3 separate regions of the Homo sapiens genome follow, and regions 1 and 2 are each linked to region 3. Evidence: promoter capture Hi-C in 16 types of primary human blood cells and fetal thymus (Javierre and others, 2016). All regions are on one chromosome and are shown on one strand. The core of a region is centred on a gene start or on the middle of the fragment in contact, and the rest is flanking DNA. Distances in the headings are between cores, read along the strand shown. Region 1 overlaps FOXK2 (forkhead box K2). Region 2 overlaps FOXK2 (forkhead box K2). Region 3 holds the start of CSNK1D (casein kinase 1 delta).

The links. Contacts are between HindIII fragments. The CHiCAGO score rates a contact against its expected background, and 5 or more counts as called.
Region 1: a contact is called between a fragment that was not itself captured here and the fragment with the promoter of CSNK1D in region 3, in 1 of 17 cell types (activated CD4 T cells). The highest score is 5.1, in activated CD4 T cells.
Region 2: a fragment that was not itself captured here is called in contact with the fragment with the promoter of CSNK1D in region 3 in 1 of 17 cell types (activated CD4 T cells); the score reaches 5.7 in activated CD4 T cells.

The regions. Positions count from the first base shown.
Region 1 is chr17:82,527,869-82,532,167 of GRCh38, forward strand. All of the region lies in intron 1 of FOXK2 (forkhead box K2), which reads left to right. Among named protein-coding and RNA genes, the nearest start is that of FOXK2, 10 kb to the left of the region's middle. The HindIII fragment of the contact is 2,689 bases long and covers 496-3,184 here.
Region 2 is chr17:82,573,551-82,577,992 of GRCh38, forward strand. All of the region lies in intron 4 of FOXK2 (forkhead box K2), which reads left to right. It also overlaps the pseudogene ARL2BPP9. Among named protein-coding and RNA genes, the nearest start is that of FOXK2-AS1, 13 kb to the right of the region's middle. The HindIII fragment of the contact is 4,658 bases long and covers 233-4,442 here.
Region 3 is chr17:82,270,820-82,275,190 of GRCh38, forward strand. CSNK1D (casein kinase 1 delta) reads right to left here and starts at 2,881. Exons shown (of 9, transcript NM_001893.6): 1 at 2,487-2,881. The coding sequence starts at 2,562. It overlaps LOC124904089 (a long non-coding RNA gene), which reads left to right and starts at 2,959. Exons shown (of 2, transcript XR_007065953.1): 1 at 2,959-4,254. RefSeq lists silencers at 2,281-2,330, 2,381-2,570, 2,811-3,020. The HindIII fragment of the contact is 9,296 bases long and covers 1-4,233 here.

The DNA.
Region 1 (4,299 bases), core at 590-3,089, 260 kb after region 3:
TAGCTCACTGCAGCCTTGAACTCCTGGACTCAAGCGATCTTCCCACCTCAGTCTCCCGTGTAGCTGAGAGTACAGGCCTGCATGGCCATTCAGGGCTAATTTATTTTTTTTTGGACGTGGGGTCTCGCTATGTTGCCCAGGCTGGTCGCAAATTCCTGTCCTCAAGCAGTCCCCCCACCTCAGTCTGCCAAAGTGCTGGGATTACAGGTGCGAGCCACCCTGCCTGGCCTATACATGTTTTCAAGTGCTGATCATTTATTAATAGTGAAGTGATTGTAGTCAGGCGTGGCTCCCCCATTTACTGGCAGGTCCCATTTAGACCTGCGGTTGCAGAAGTACAGCACAGCTCTGTGCATGATTGGTGGAAATATTCCAGGAGATGAGGCTGTTACAGTAACAGCAGATTTTTCCATTGTGAAAATGTAACTATTCCTGCTTTGTTGAAGAGAAAGATTTTTTTGGAAAATGAAGAAAAGAGGATTTCTAAATTAAGGAAGCTTTTAGTGAAAGCAGTTGGCATTTGGGTAGTAGTATTCTTATCTGTTTAACATTTTTGTGGGGCTCTTGTTTTCTTTTATGTTTGGTTTTTGGAGCAATTTATAATATCTTAAATAATGACAGTCATAGTAAATCAACCTCCACACTTTTTCATGAGGAATTTTTGAATTTGCTGCTAAAATGCAGTACAGGAGGGCATGTTTAAGGCACACATTACCATCTCTACAATGTGAAGCGGGCTTTGAGCACGGAACAAGGTGTTACAGCTGTACCTAGGAAGTGGTGGCAGGGAGACCAGAAAGTACCTCGTGCCAGAGCCACAGCCCCTGCGGCCCTGCTTTCCTCGTGCACGTCAGTTTAGAGTGCACATTGGGCTTCAAACGCCTCTGCTGATTTGTTAGGAACAGAGAAGGTGCTCTGCTGAGAATTCCGTAGATTTCTAGACAGTATTTGGTTTTTGCTGCAGTTTGTCATTTGAGATGGAATGCTTGTGTTCTTTGTCCTGTGAAGGGCATTGGAGTACGACACCGGGGTGAGTCTGCCTCCTTCCCCTCCCTGGGACGTATGACAGTGTCTGGAGGCACATTTGGTTGGCATAGACTGGGAGGACGGGTGCTACTGGCATCTAGTGGACAGAGGCCAGGGATGCCACTGAAAAATCTTACAACGCACAGGACGCAGGAGGGGAGAGCCGCCTGTTGCGTAGCAACCTGGCAGCTGATAATATAATAAAAGTTGGTTATGACTCTTGGTCCTACTGGTGGTAAGTTTTAATAATTTTTTTTACAGATGATTCCTGCTTAAAACCTTTATGCTACCAAAGCATCTGTTCAAATTATACTTGAAAGCGCCTTTTTTTTTTTTTTTTTTTTTTGAGACAGGGTCTTGCTCTGTTTCCCAGGCTGAAGTGCAGTGGTGTGATCTTGGCTCATTGCAGTGTCCACCTCCCGGGTTCAAGCGATTCTCCTGCCTCAGCCTCCTGAGTAGCTGGAATTACAGGCACGTGCCACCACGCCGGCTAATTTTTTTTTTTTTTTTTTCAAGATGGAGTTCTGCTCTGTCGTCCAGGCTGGAATGCAGTGGCACGATCTTGGCTCACTGCAACCTCCGCCTCCCAGGTTCAAGTGATTCTCCTGCCTTAGCCTCCTGAGTACCTGGGATTACAGGCGCGTGCCCACTCCCAGCTAATTTTTGTATTTTTAATAGACAGGGTTTCACCATGTTGGCCAGGCTGATCTCGGACTCCTGACCTCAGGTGATCCGCTTGCCTCGGCCTCCCAAAGTGCTGGGATTACAGGCGTGAGCCATGGCGCCCCACCTGAAAGTGCCTTTTGTAAAACAGAGCCTGGAGGTTGAGACTCATTGCGGAGTCACTAGATAACTCCTCCCTTTGCAGCTTTGAAAGGACACTCTCGGAATGCAGTTCTGTCTTGCTATCCCTGGTTGTAAGAAGATACAACTAGGTCCCTTAAGGCAGTAGTAGCCTAACATTGTTACGTTTGTAATGTGTTCTCTTAGTCGTATTTATTGACTTAATTAGGCTGATACAGATATTCTGAGAACTAGGAATACCTTAGTTACATTGATACAGATATTCTGAGAACGTTTATCTTTAGTGGGAAAAAAGACAATGAGCTGTAGCTGAATTGTTCCAGTTTTTTGTGTTCCTGGTTCCACTGGAGAATGAACTGATGATGTGACGTCATTGTTAGCACAGCCACGCTGGGAAAGATGGCTCTCAAGGTGCTGTTTTTAATGGTGTTTAGTCATTAATAATTGGCAGTAAGAAAACTCATCTTTTGACTTTCATTTGGACAGATGGAATATAGAAAACCTGAAATAGGCCGGGCACGTTGGGTCACGCCTGTCATCCCAGCACTTTGGGTGGCTGAGGCAGGCGGATCTCCTGAGATCGGGAGTTCGAGACCAGCCTGACCAACATGGAGAAACCCTGTGTCTACTAAAAATACAAAATTAGCTGGGTGTGGTGGCGCATGCCTCTAATACCAGCTACTCGGGAGGCTAAGGCAGGAGAATCACTTGAACTCCAGCCTGGGCAACAAGAGTGAAACTCCATCTAAAAAAAAAAAAAAAAAAAAAGAGAGAGAAAACCCGAAATAAGGAAATTTAAAACTACTGATGTGTTTTTTTTTTTTTTTTTTGAGACAGAGTCTCGCTCTGTCACCCAGGCTGGAGTGCAGTGGCGCCATCTCAGCTCACTGCAACGTCCTCCTCCCGGGTTCAAACAATTCTCCTGCCTCAGTCTCCCGAGTAGCTGGGATTACAGGCGCCACCACCACGCTCTGCTAATTTTTGTATTTTTAGTAGAGACGGGGTTTCACCATGTGGGCCAGGCTGGTCTCAAACTCCTGACTGCAGGTGATTCCCCTGTCTTGGCCTCCCAAAGTGTTGGGATCACAGGCCAAAGTGTGAGTCACTGTGCCCGGTCTACTGTTGTGTTTTCAAAGTGGCTTTTTTGGTCTTGTATTTTTCAGAATACGATAGCATTTTGAGTATATAGAGAATGTTTTAAAAATTCTGTGTTTTTGCCATTTCTGAGCTGTTGGAGGATGTTAGGATAATGAACATCATTTTGATAGCCATTTGAGCTGGGTGGAAGAAGATGTGGTTTAAATATAAAATGTCTGTTCTGGGTCCTCCTTGAGGACCTGTTCCCACTTTGCCAAGCTTCCCCCTGGACTTGTCCACACGTGATTAAACACAGCTGAAATCCTGTACACTTGAGTGAACTGCATGTAAGTGTTCTGTGGGCTGGGCTGATTCATCTTTACATTGTACACTTCCTGGGGTTGTAGCCTTTGACCCCTGGGTGACCTCCTCCAGGAATTCTGGGTACTCGATAGGACTCAAATGTTTATTGCTGAATTGGTTGGATGTGGGCTTCTGAGTTTGGATTGGGTGACTACTGTACCATAGGAAACCATGTAAAACAGTTATAAATGTAAGTCAGATTAAATTCACTTCTGATTCTACAGTTGCTCCCACTTTTTTTTGTTTTTGTTGATGGTAGACTCCCCAAAGTGACTTTTTTGGCCTTGTACAGTCATGCATCACTTAACTGTGGAAATCATTCTGAGAAATGCATTGTTAGGTGATTTCATTGTTGTGCGAACATCATAGAGCATACTTGTACAAGCCTAGATGACACAGCCTGCTGCACACCCAGGCTGTGTGTATATCCTGTTGCGCCTACAGCCACATGCTGCACAAACTTAAGCAACATGTGACTGTATTGAATGCTGTAACATGGTGTTTGTGTATCTAAACATATTAAAACATAGAAAAGGCACAGTAAAAATAAGGTACAAAAGATAAAGGTACAGCTCTCTAGAGCACTTAGTGTCAGCAGAGCTTGCAGGACGGGGTGAGTCAGTGAGTAAATGGTGAGTGAATGTGAAGGCCTAGGACGTGACTGTACACCGCTGTCAACTTCATAAACACTGGACATTTAGGCTATACTTTATTTATTTGAGAAGGAGTTTCGCTTTTGTCGCCCAGGCTGCAGTGCAATGGCGTGATCTTGGCTCACTGCAACGTCTGCCTCCCAGGTTCAAGCAGTTCTCCTGCCTCAGCTTCCCGAGTAGCTGGGATTACAGGCTCACGCCGCCACGCCCGGCTAATTATTTTATTTTATTTTATTTTAGTAGAGATGGGGTTTCACCATGTTGTCCAGGCTGGTCTTGAACTCCTGAGCTCAGGTAAACACCTACCTTGGCCTCCCTAAGTGCTAGGATTATAGGCGTGAGCCACTGTGCCCATCTTATTTATTTTTTTGAGATG
Region 2 (4,442 bases), core at 1,312-3,811, 300 kb after region 3:
CTCTCTCTCTCTCACACACACACACACACACACACACACACACACACACAACCAGATAATAACTTCTACCCATGTTCCAGTGACCATGGCTTTATGGCTTTGTCAAGGAGAGAAACTCCACATGGGGTCCAGCTTGCTCTGTGGGAGTGTGTGAGGGTCCCTCAGAGTTTACAGCTTATTCTGATGGTTTGAGATACCAGTTACCTGGGGCTTTGTCAGTGTGTTTCTAAGAAGCTTTATTAGACTCTAATGTGTTTCTCTTAAGTGGTATTTCTGTGTGTTTTTTCTAACATCCATTTATTTGAGAACTACCTATGAACAGGACAAGGCTTTCTTGCTAAAGAGGGTGGCTGGATAAAGGCCTGGCCTCAGTTTTGGGGGGGCCCAAGTCAGGACAGGTCTTTTGGGGAGCAGAGCCCTTGGAGCAAGGCTCTCCTGGACCACAGTCGTGAAGTGGCGAGGACCCCACGGGACCCCTCATGCATGCCCTGCTTTCTGTCGTCTATTGCAGGTGCCTGCACAGCTCACGTCGGCAGGGAATGACAGACTAGCACACGTCAGGCACCCTTCTCTGCTGAACTGCTATTAAACTTGTTTCTGTTGAAACATTTTCTCTCCTGTCTAGATGGAGGTCTGTAAGTCTACAGCTGCATCTCTTTCCCCAGTAAGGCCACTCCTGTGTCATTTCATGCCTCGTGGCTCCAGCTAATTAAGCGGGAGAGGGATTAGTTTCTCCAGATTCCTCCTAGTTCATGGACATTACTCTCTCTCTTTTTTTTTTTTTTTTGAGATAGAGTTTTGCTCTTGTTGCCCAGGCTGGAGTGCAATGGCGCGATCTCGGCTCACTGCAACCTCCGCCTCCCAGGTTCAAGCGATTCTCCTGCCTCAGCCTCATGAGTAGCTGGGACTACAGGCTTGAGCCACCACACCCGGCTAATTTTGTATTTTTAGCAGAGACGGGGTTCCTCCATGTTGGTCAGGCTGGTGTTGAACTCCCGACCTCGGGTGATCTGCCTGCCTCGGTCTCCCGAAGTGCTGGGATTACAGGCGTGAGCCACCGCGCCTGGCCAATGTACTTTGAATTTCTTTCTGTCCTCAGCTGTACCCTTGGCTGTCAGAATACTGACCCTCACGGGCTCTTCCTGTGCCATGAGATTCTCTGAGCCGCCCTTCCCAGTGCCTCAGACCTTATTCTGACTTCCTCCCTCCTGGCTTACAACAAAAGCCAGGTGTTTTGTATTGTCTACCTATGGTATAGCTTTTTGGTCAATCCACAGAGGACATCTGAGGGTGAAATGAGATGGTCTGAGGAATCCTATTTGAAAAGATGCCATATGTCTTTCTTTTGTTTGCATTTACGTCCTATGATTTGATTTTTTCATGGTACAAAAGTATTTAATAAGTGACACTTCAGTACAGAAAACACAGAGCTTGTAGCTTGTCCTTTAAAACCAGGACGGCCAAGTGAAAAGTCAGTACAGAGTCTTATTTTTACTATTAAACAAATCAAAGGGACACACTGGGCATTGAACTACTATGCTTTTTCTTCTTTCTAGAGATGACATACGTGTTTTCTGATAAGTAATGTACCACACATTGCACTAAAGCAAAGCAGCAAACAGCCAGTAAAGCTGTGCCCTGCCTGCTGCTCCTGCCGGGCTGGACCAGTGGAACACCATCTCGGTAGGAGAGGAAGAAAATGCAGAGTCCCTAACCCAGAGAGCCTAACAAACTGGTTTATACCGAAGTGATCTTCAGCAAACACGCAAACACACTAACATGCTGTAAGAATGTTTTAGTCTATTTCTAGCACACAGCATAAATTCGTAGGTGCCCAGTCAAATAGGAAGGAACGCCATTGTAGAAAGCATTTTTGCCTTCACAGCACTAACACCTAAAAAGCACACGGCATATAGTACTTTGATCTTTAAGTGGATAAGCATGGAAGTCCCAAGATCATATCCACTAGATTAGCCTGAGTATTCATCTATAAAAATATATATTTTTAAAATAATGCTTAAAAGAGACTTCTAGAAACAGTGGGACTACATCAGGAGCAGAAGACAGCGACACAAGGACTGCAAATGTTAAGACTAGGAGTGGCTTTTCACGTGGAACTTTTATGTAGAGGACGTCTCTTTCTGTTGATTGCTACAGCCGAGACAAGCTGTGATCACAGGAGATTCTGAAATCTCAAGCTGGGCTTGAGTAACACCCTAGATAGACATCAGGAACCCCATTGAGGCTGAAGTACTGAAACTGACCCATGTGAAGAAGAGATAAAGAGATGCAGATGCGCAAAGATTCACGCAGAGCCTGCTGGGACAGAGGGTGGCGGCGGGTTCATCCACACGTCCACACCAGCGTGTGTGCTTGGGTGGCGGCGGCGGGTTCATCCACACCAGCGTGTGTGCTCGGGTGGCGGCGGCGGGTTCGTCCACACGTCCACACCAGCGTGTGTGCTCGGGTGGCGGCGGCGGGTTCGTCCACACCAGCGTGTGCTCGGGTGGCGGCGGCGGGTTCGTCCACACCAGCGTGTGTGCTCGGGTGGCGGCGGCGGGTTCGTCCACACCAGCGTGTGTGCTCGGGTGGCGGCGGCGGGTTCGTCCACACCAGCGTGTGTGCTCGGGTGGCGGCGGCGGGTTCGTCCACACCAGCGTGTGTGCTCGGGTGGCGGCGGCGGGTTCGTCCACACCAGCGTGTGTGCTCGGGTGGCGGCGGCGGGTTCGTCCACACCAGCGTGTGTGCTCGGGGAAGGACCCCCCAAGTGGAGTGCTGGACATGGGCTCGCTCCAGAGGCGTCTGACTCAGAAGCTCCTGAGAGAAGTGTCTCCTTGAGGAGGGGAGGAATACTACGGTTAATGAATACAAGAAGGTGTTTCAGGAGAAATAGGTCTAGGAGGGTTAAGTCATTTTGGTTTTGACCTGTCAATACTTAACATAAATGAAGAATTACAAAACAGAGTCAGTCTTTTTCCAAGATGTATTCTGTCATCATGAGCTGAGCCTGTTGGGCTGGTGACATCCAGAATGTTCCAATTCATTGGCTGGAGGGAGGACCCAGTGCCGCAGATTGTTCTGGGAAGCTGGCACAGAAGATGATTGACACAACGAAGTCACCACTAAGCCACTGCTTAAGTCTAGTCCTCGGCCTTCTTTTTCTGCTCTGTAGTCCAAAACCGTGAACGTAGCAGCATGTCGAATATGTCACCAGCTGCTTCATTTTTATGGTGCTGTAATGTGGTGGTGAAAGCTGCCATGTTGAATCCAGAAATCCGCTCCAGCAGCTGTTCTTCAATATATTTTTCTACCAAAAAAATGTATGCAGGCTGGGTGCGGTGGCTCACGCCTGTAATCCCAGCACTTTGGGAGGCTGTGGCCGGCAGATCACCTGTGGTTGGAGGGTTCGAGACCAGATGACCAACACGGAGAAACTACATCTCTACTAAAAATACAATATTATTAGCGGGGTGTGGTGGTGCGTGCCTGTAATCCCAGCTACTCAGGAGGCTGAAGCAGGAGAATTGTTTGAACCCACATGGCGGAGACTGCGGTGAGCTGATACCGCGTCATTGCACTCCAGCCTGGGCAACAAGAGCAAAACTCCGTCTCAAAAAAAGAAAAAGAAAAAAAGAAATGTATTCATTAAAAATAGGTGTGTAGGTGAGTTTATTCTCTTCCGTGTCTTCAAACTCCAGGTAGTACTTGTCCATGTAATTTCTCTGTAATAACTGGAACTCGTTATCCATGATAACGTTCTCTAAATATCCAACCACAACAGCAAATTCATCAGAGGTGGAGGAGAAAGACAGCACAAAGCTCTCTTCTTCTAAGGTGTCCATCACTGCAGCCCCGAGCAGGCTCCTACCCCGCCTGTGGCCCAACCTGCATGCAGGGCGTGGCGGGCGGCCGGGTTAAGGTCTCGCAGCCAAAGCTGCGGCGTGCTCACTGCCCAGTCAGGGCAGCACCTGCGTGCCAGGCCCAGCCCTGGGTTAGGGCCCCGCCGGGCCCTCTGTGCATACCGCCGACACTGCGGGCCAAGGTCTCGGTGACTCCAAAATGATTTTTATGGTTTTATGATTTTACTTCACCCAGAATTGAGATAATTGTTGTGACTATGAGAAGTTTGAAAGGACGGGCCTCTCAGCCTCCAAAGGGACTAGAGCTGGTTCCTTTTATTTATTTTTGTTTTATTTATTTTTTTGGGGACAGAGTCTTACTCTGTTGCCCAGGCTGGAGTGCAGTGGCGCGATCTCAGCTCACTGCAACCTTTGCCTCCTGGGTTCAAGTGGTTCTCCATTCTCAGCCTCCTGAGGAGCTGGGACTACAGGTGCATGCCACCATGCCCGGCTAATTTTTGTGTTTTTACTAGGGATGGGATTTTGCCATGTTGGCCAGGCTGGTCTCGAACTCCTGACCTCAAGTGATCCACCCGCCTCGGC
Region 3 (4,371 bases), core at 1,631-4,130:
GGACGGCTGTCTGGGGGCTCCAACCCCAGGGTGTCAGAGCCACAGCCGCCCGCAATCCCGTATCCAGCATGACTGTATGCCCAGCGCGAGGTGAGGCCTGGAGGGTAGAATGCTGAGTGAGGAGACAGCCTTCCACCCTCCACCTCTGGAATTACTTGGTGACAACCACACCAAAATTTGTCTTAATCTATCTTTGGAAAGCACAAAGTTGTTTGACAAGGTCTCAGATCAGAGAACAGATAGTTTCAAAGTACTTCTTATTTATTTATTTTTTGAGACAGAGTCTCACTCCATCGCCCAGGCTGCAGTGCAGTGGTGTGATCTTGGCTCACTGCAACCTCCGCCTCCCAGGTTCAAGCAATTCTCGTGCCTCAGCCTCCCAAGTAGCTGGAATTACAGGCAGCCACCACCACGCCTGGCCAATTTTTGTATTTTTAGTAGAGATGGGGTTTCGCCACTTTGGCCAGGCTGGTCTCCTGACCTCAAGCGACCCGCCCACCTCAGCTTCCCAAAGTGCTGGGATTACAGGCGTGAGCCACCACACCCGGCCCAAAATACTCCTTTTTGATGCCTGCCTAAAGGTGGCTAATGGACTGGCTTTGCAGTGTAACTCAGATCCTGGGGTTAAAACTTTCGCCAAAATCCATTGTTCTATAAATAAGCCAAACGACTTCCATTGACCAAGCACTCTGACTTCCCAAACACTGCCAAGAACACATCCAGCTGACCACCTGGTATAAATGTTTAATAGCCAAACCCAAATGTCTAAAGCCTGCTTACTCAGCAGTCCACTAAGGCATATGTACAGGTTCAAAAGCAACAATATGGCATGTGACAGGGTCACCTGGCAGGTTAACCAGGCACCGAAAGTATGAGCCACCCATATGTGTGGATTCGTCCTAACGCTGTCAGCCCACCGGGTCCTGAGTCCTCTCTCTGGTGACAAGTGGGAAGGGTGTGAGAACTGGAGACTGTCCACATGTGGCTTCATCTAAAAGGTATGACCAGAGGCATTACTGACATCCCAGGGGATTCCTGACCCTAGCTGACAGGTGCCCCAGTTAAAACACACCCCAAAGCTAGGGCTGCTGGAACAGAAAACAGCTCCCCTCAAAGGTCTGCAGCAGCCCCTCTGCAGGCACACCGCCTCAGGCTACATATCCTCAAATTCAGGGGATCTTGGAATAACTCGTGCATTGCACAATCCCACTAACAAGTGCGGAAAATTAAGTTACTTTAAAATTACAAACTTGGGCCAGGCGCGGTGGCTTCCCAGCACTTCGGGAGGCCGAACTGGGCGGATCACTTGAGGTCCGGAGTTCGAGACCAGCCTTGACCAACATGAAGAAACCCCGTCTCTACTAAAAATACGAAATTAGCCAGGCGTGGTGGCGCACGCCTGTGATCCCAGCTTTTCGGGAGGCTGAGGCAGGAGAATCGCTTGAACCTGGGAGGCAGAGGTTGCGGTGAGCCGAGATCACGCCATTGCACTCCAACCTGGGCAACAAGAGCGAAACTCCGTCTCAGGAAAAAAAAAAAAATTACAAACTTGAAGATTTAAGCCAACCTTTCATCACACTTGTGTTCACGTGCATATTTTTCCATTGTAAATATGACACAACCCAAAACCTTCTAATCCCATTGTTTTTGAAATCTACCTTGAGACTGTTACAGTCTAAAGGACACCTCATGAGTACAACTACCTCATCTGCCTCTCATCTTGCCAGCATCTTAATCCTGTGTGACTTTCTCTACATTCACCTAAACTTAACCCTTGCTCATTTGCACTCAGTCACCGCTCCAAGGCCAAGGGGAACCGTTCAGAGAGAACCCCCAGCGGGAGGGCAAGCCCCACTCCTAGCCGGGCCACTCCCCCGCTCCACACGGCATTTGGGTCTTTCTGACATTTTCCCCCACGAATGCAAGACACCGGGGCAGCCTCTGAGGGGGCAGCCAGACAGCCCCGGACCGGGCTGCGGAAGAAAGAGCGTGGCCTTTGTTTACTGCGGTGACCTTAGGCGTAGAGGAAGCCGACGCCCGCTTCGCGGCCCCAGCCCTACCCCCTCCCCTCCCACGGCCCGCTGCCCCCACCCCCGCCCTGCCCCTCCCCCAGGCCCGCCTCCCCACGCCCCACCCAGCCCTTCCCGAGTCCGCTCCCCACGACCCTGCCCCTACCCAGGTCGGCTCCCCAGAGACCATGCCCCACCCCGGGTCAGCTCCCCTATCCCCTCCTTCCCCAACCCTCCCCTCTCCAGACCCTGCTCCCCCGACCTGGTCCTGCCCCTCCCCCACGTCCGCTCCCCACTGCCCTCCCCACCCCTGGCCGCGCTAGCCTAGTGGCCGTTGGGTTCTGGCCACGATCCGGCGGTGCCGGGACTTGCGCGGAGACCCCGCGGGGGCCACCACTTCCTTCCGCGATCGCGCTTGGTCTTGGCAGCCGCAGGGCCCGGGTCTTCGGGCGGCGGGCGGGGGCGGCGGGGCCTCACCGAGATAGATGTCTCCGAAGGAGCCGCTGCCGATCTTCCGGCCCAGCCGGTACCTGTTCCCGACTCTCAGCTCCATGGCGGCGGCGGCCCGATTCGCTCCTGCCCTCCCGGCCGCTTCCTGGGTCTGAACTCTGGGAGGCGGCGCCGCTGCTGCCGCTACTGCGGGTCCGGCTCCCGGCTCCGCCCCCCTCACGGCCCCGCTTTCACCATCGCTTTCCTGTCGCCCCGCCGCTCCCAGCGCCTCAATACGGGGCGGATGGGACAGTCCGAGCGCCGCCGCCGCTGCTCCGGCCCCTACCGGTCCCGCTTGCCCTCTCCCCGCCGCGGATGGACTCGGATCTTCCGGGCCTAAATCCCCTTTCAGCTGCCTAAAGGAGCCGCCGCCATCGCGCTGTGACGTCACTTCCCCTAGCAACCCGGCGGGGCGGGGCCGCGGCGCTCCAGGGGCGGGGCCGGGCGGGGCGAGCGCTCCAGGCCTCCTCCCGACCCTGCGCCGTGCCCAGCCCCTCTGCCCTCCTGTTACCCCGGGACCTCGGGCCGCCAGCCCCTTCCACGTGCAGGCTCCTGCTGCTCTCGCGGGGGCTTTTCGTGTGTCCCCCGAGATGTCGAGGAAGCCAGGTGAGTTCCTCGCGACAGGCGGTGCCCTTTGCAGGAGGGGACAGGTAGCTGAGGCGTGGACAGAGTGACAGGCCAGGCTCAGGGGACACAGGTGAGACCCCCTCACTGGGCTGCCAGTTCCCGGGCTTGGGGCATCCCAGTACGTCAGCGTCTGCGGCCTTACCTCCTGACACCTAAGGCCAGAGACAGAGCAGGCCCGCGCCCTGGGAGGTCCTGATGTCCAGCCTGAAGATTGAGGACAAAGCCACCACCTTTCACAAAATGAGGCCAGACCACCTGCCTCCCTCCAGTCCCTGCGGCCTGGAGACGGAGTCAACATTCTTATCTGTGTTGGATCTGAATGTTCCTCCTTGCAAAGGAAACAAGGAGTGGACGTTCAGGCTGATGGCCAGCTTCAAAGATCGGGGCCTTTGATTCCCATCACTGGGAAGAAAGCCCTTCAGACAAGCCCCCCCAGGCTGCAGGTGCATGGGGACCTTGAAGAACCCGTCCCCATGGTCCCACGTCCATGTGTCTCGAGACCTGTCGCATCCTCGCTGAAACTCAAGAATGTGAAACAGGTGAAGGTGTGTTTTGACGCATTAGCATACCAGGGCTGTGGTGTGGGCACCGCCGTGTGAGTGAGACAGCAGCCTCAGCCCGTCCAGGTCACTGCAGAAGAGGAAAGCAGCCCCCACAGGCCCCACAGTGGTGCTCGCCTTTCTCCACCCCCCAGTCTTTCCTCTCCACCCCTCAGCTCCAAACAGCTGGAGGTCAGGTCGGGGAGACGGGCGTCCATTCCCGAAATTACATAGCAGGGCCTGGAGACAGGAGATGCCGCCGGCCAGACCACCATCAGTCACTAATGAGGGATGGGCAGTCGGAACTGCCCAGTTTCTGAGTTACAGAAGCCGGGGGTGGGGGGCTGCCAGACTAGTAAAACTGACCTTGTTGGCGGAATCGCTCACGGCTTTTCTGTTGATGAACAGAGTCCAGCTCTCCCACGGGTGGCTGTGATCCTTCTTCCTGGGGAGTCCTGCTGTCCCTGACTAGGGGCACCTGCCCACCTGTCAGCTGCTCCTCCCTCGGCTGGTCCTCCTGGGCTCTGATGGCCCCAACATTTCTAGCTCTTCTCACCCATAGTGCCCCAAGCTTCATGCAGCTGCGGCAGGTACTGTGCCCGTCTGCCTGGCTTTTGTGTGTTTGTGTCTTGACTCTATAACCCGTGCACACGGACTGGGCTGTGGTGTAGTGGGGATGGCAGGAGCCCTGGGAACATGCGGGCTGG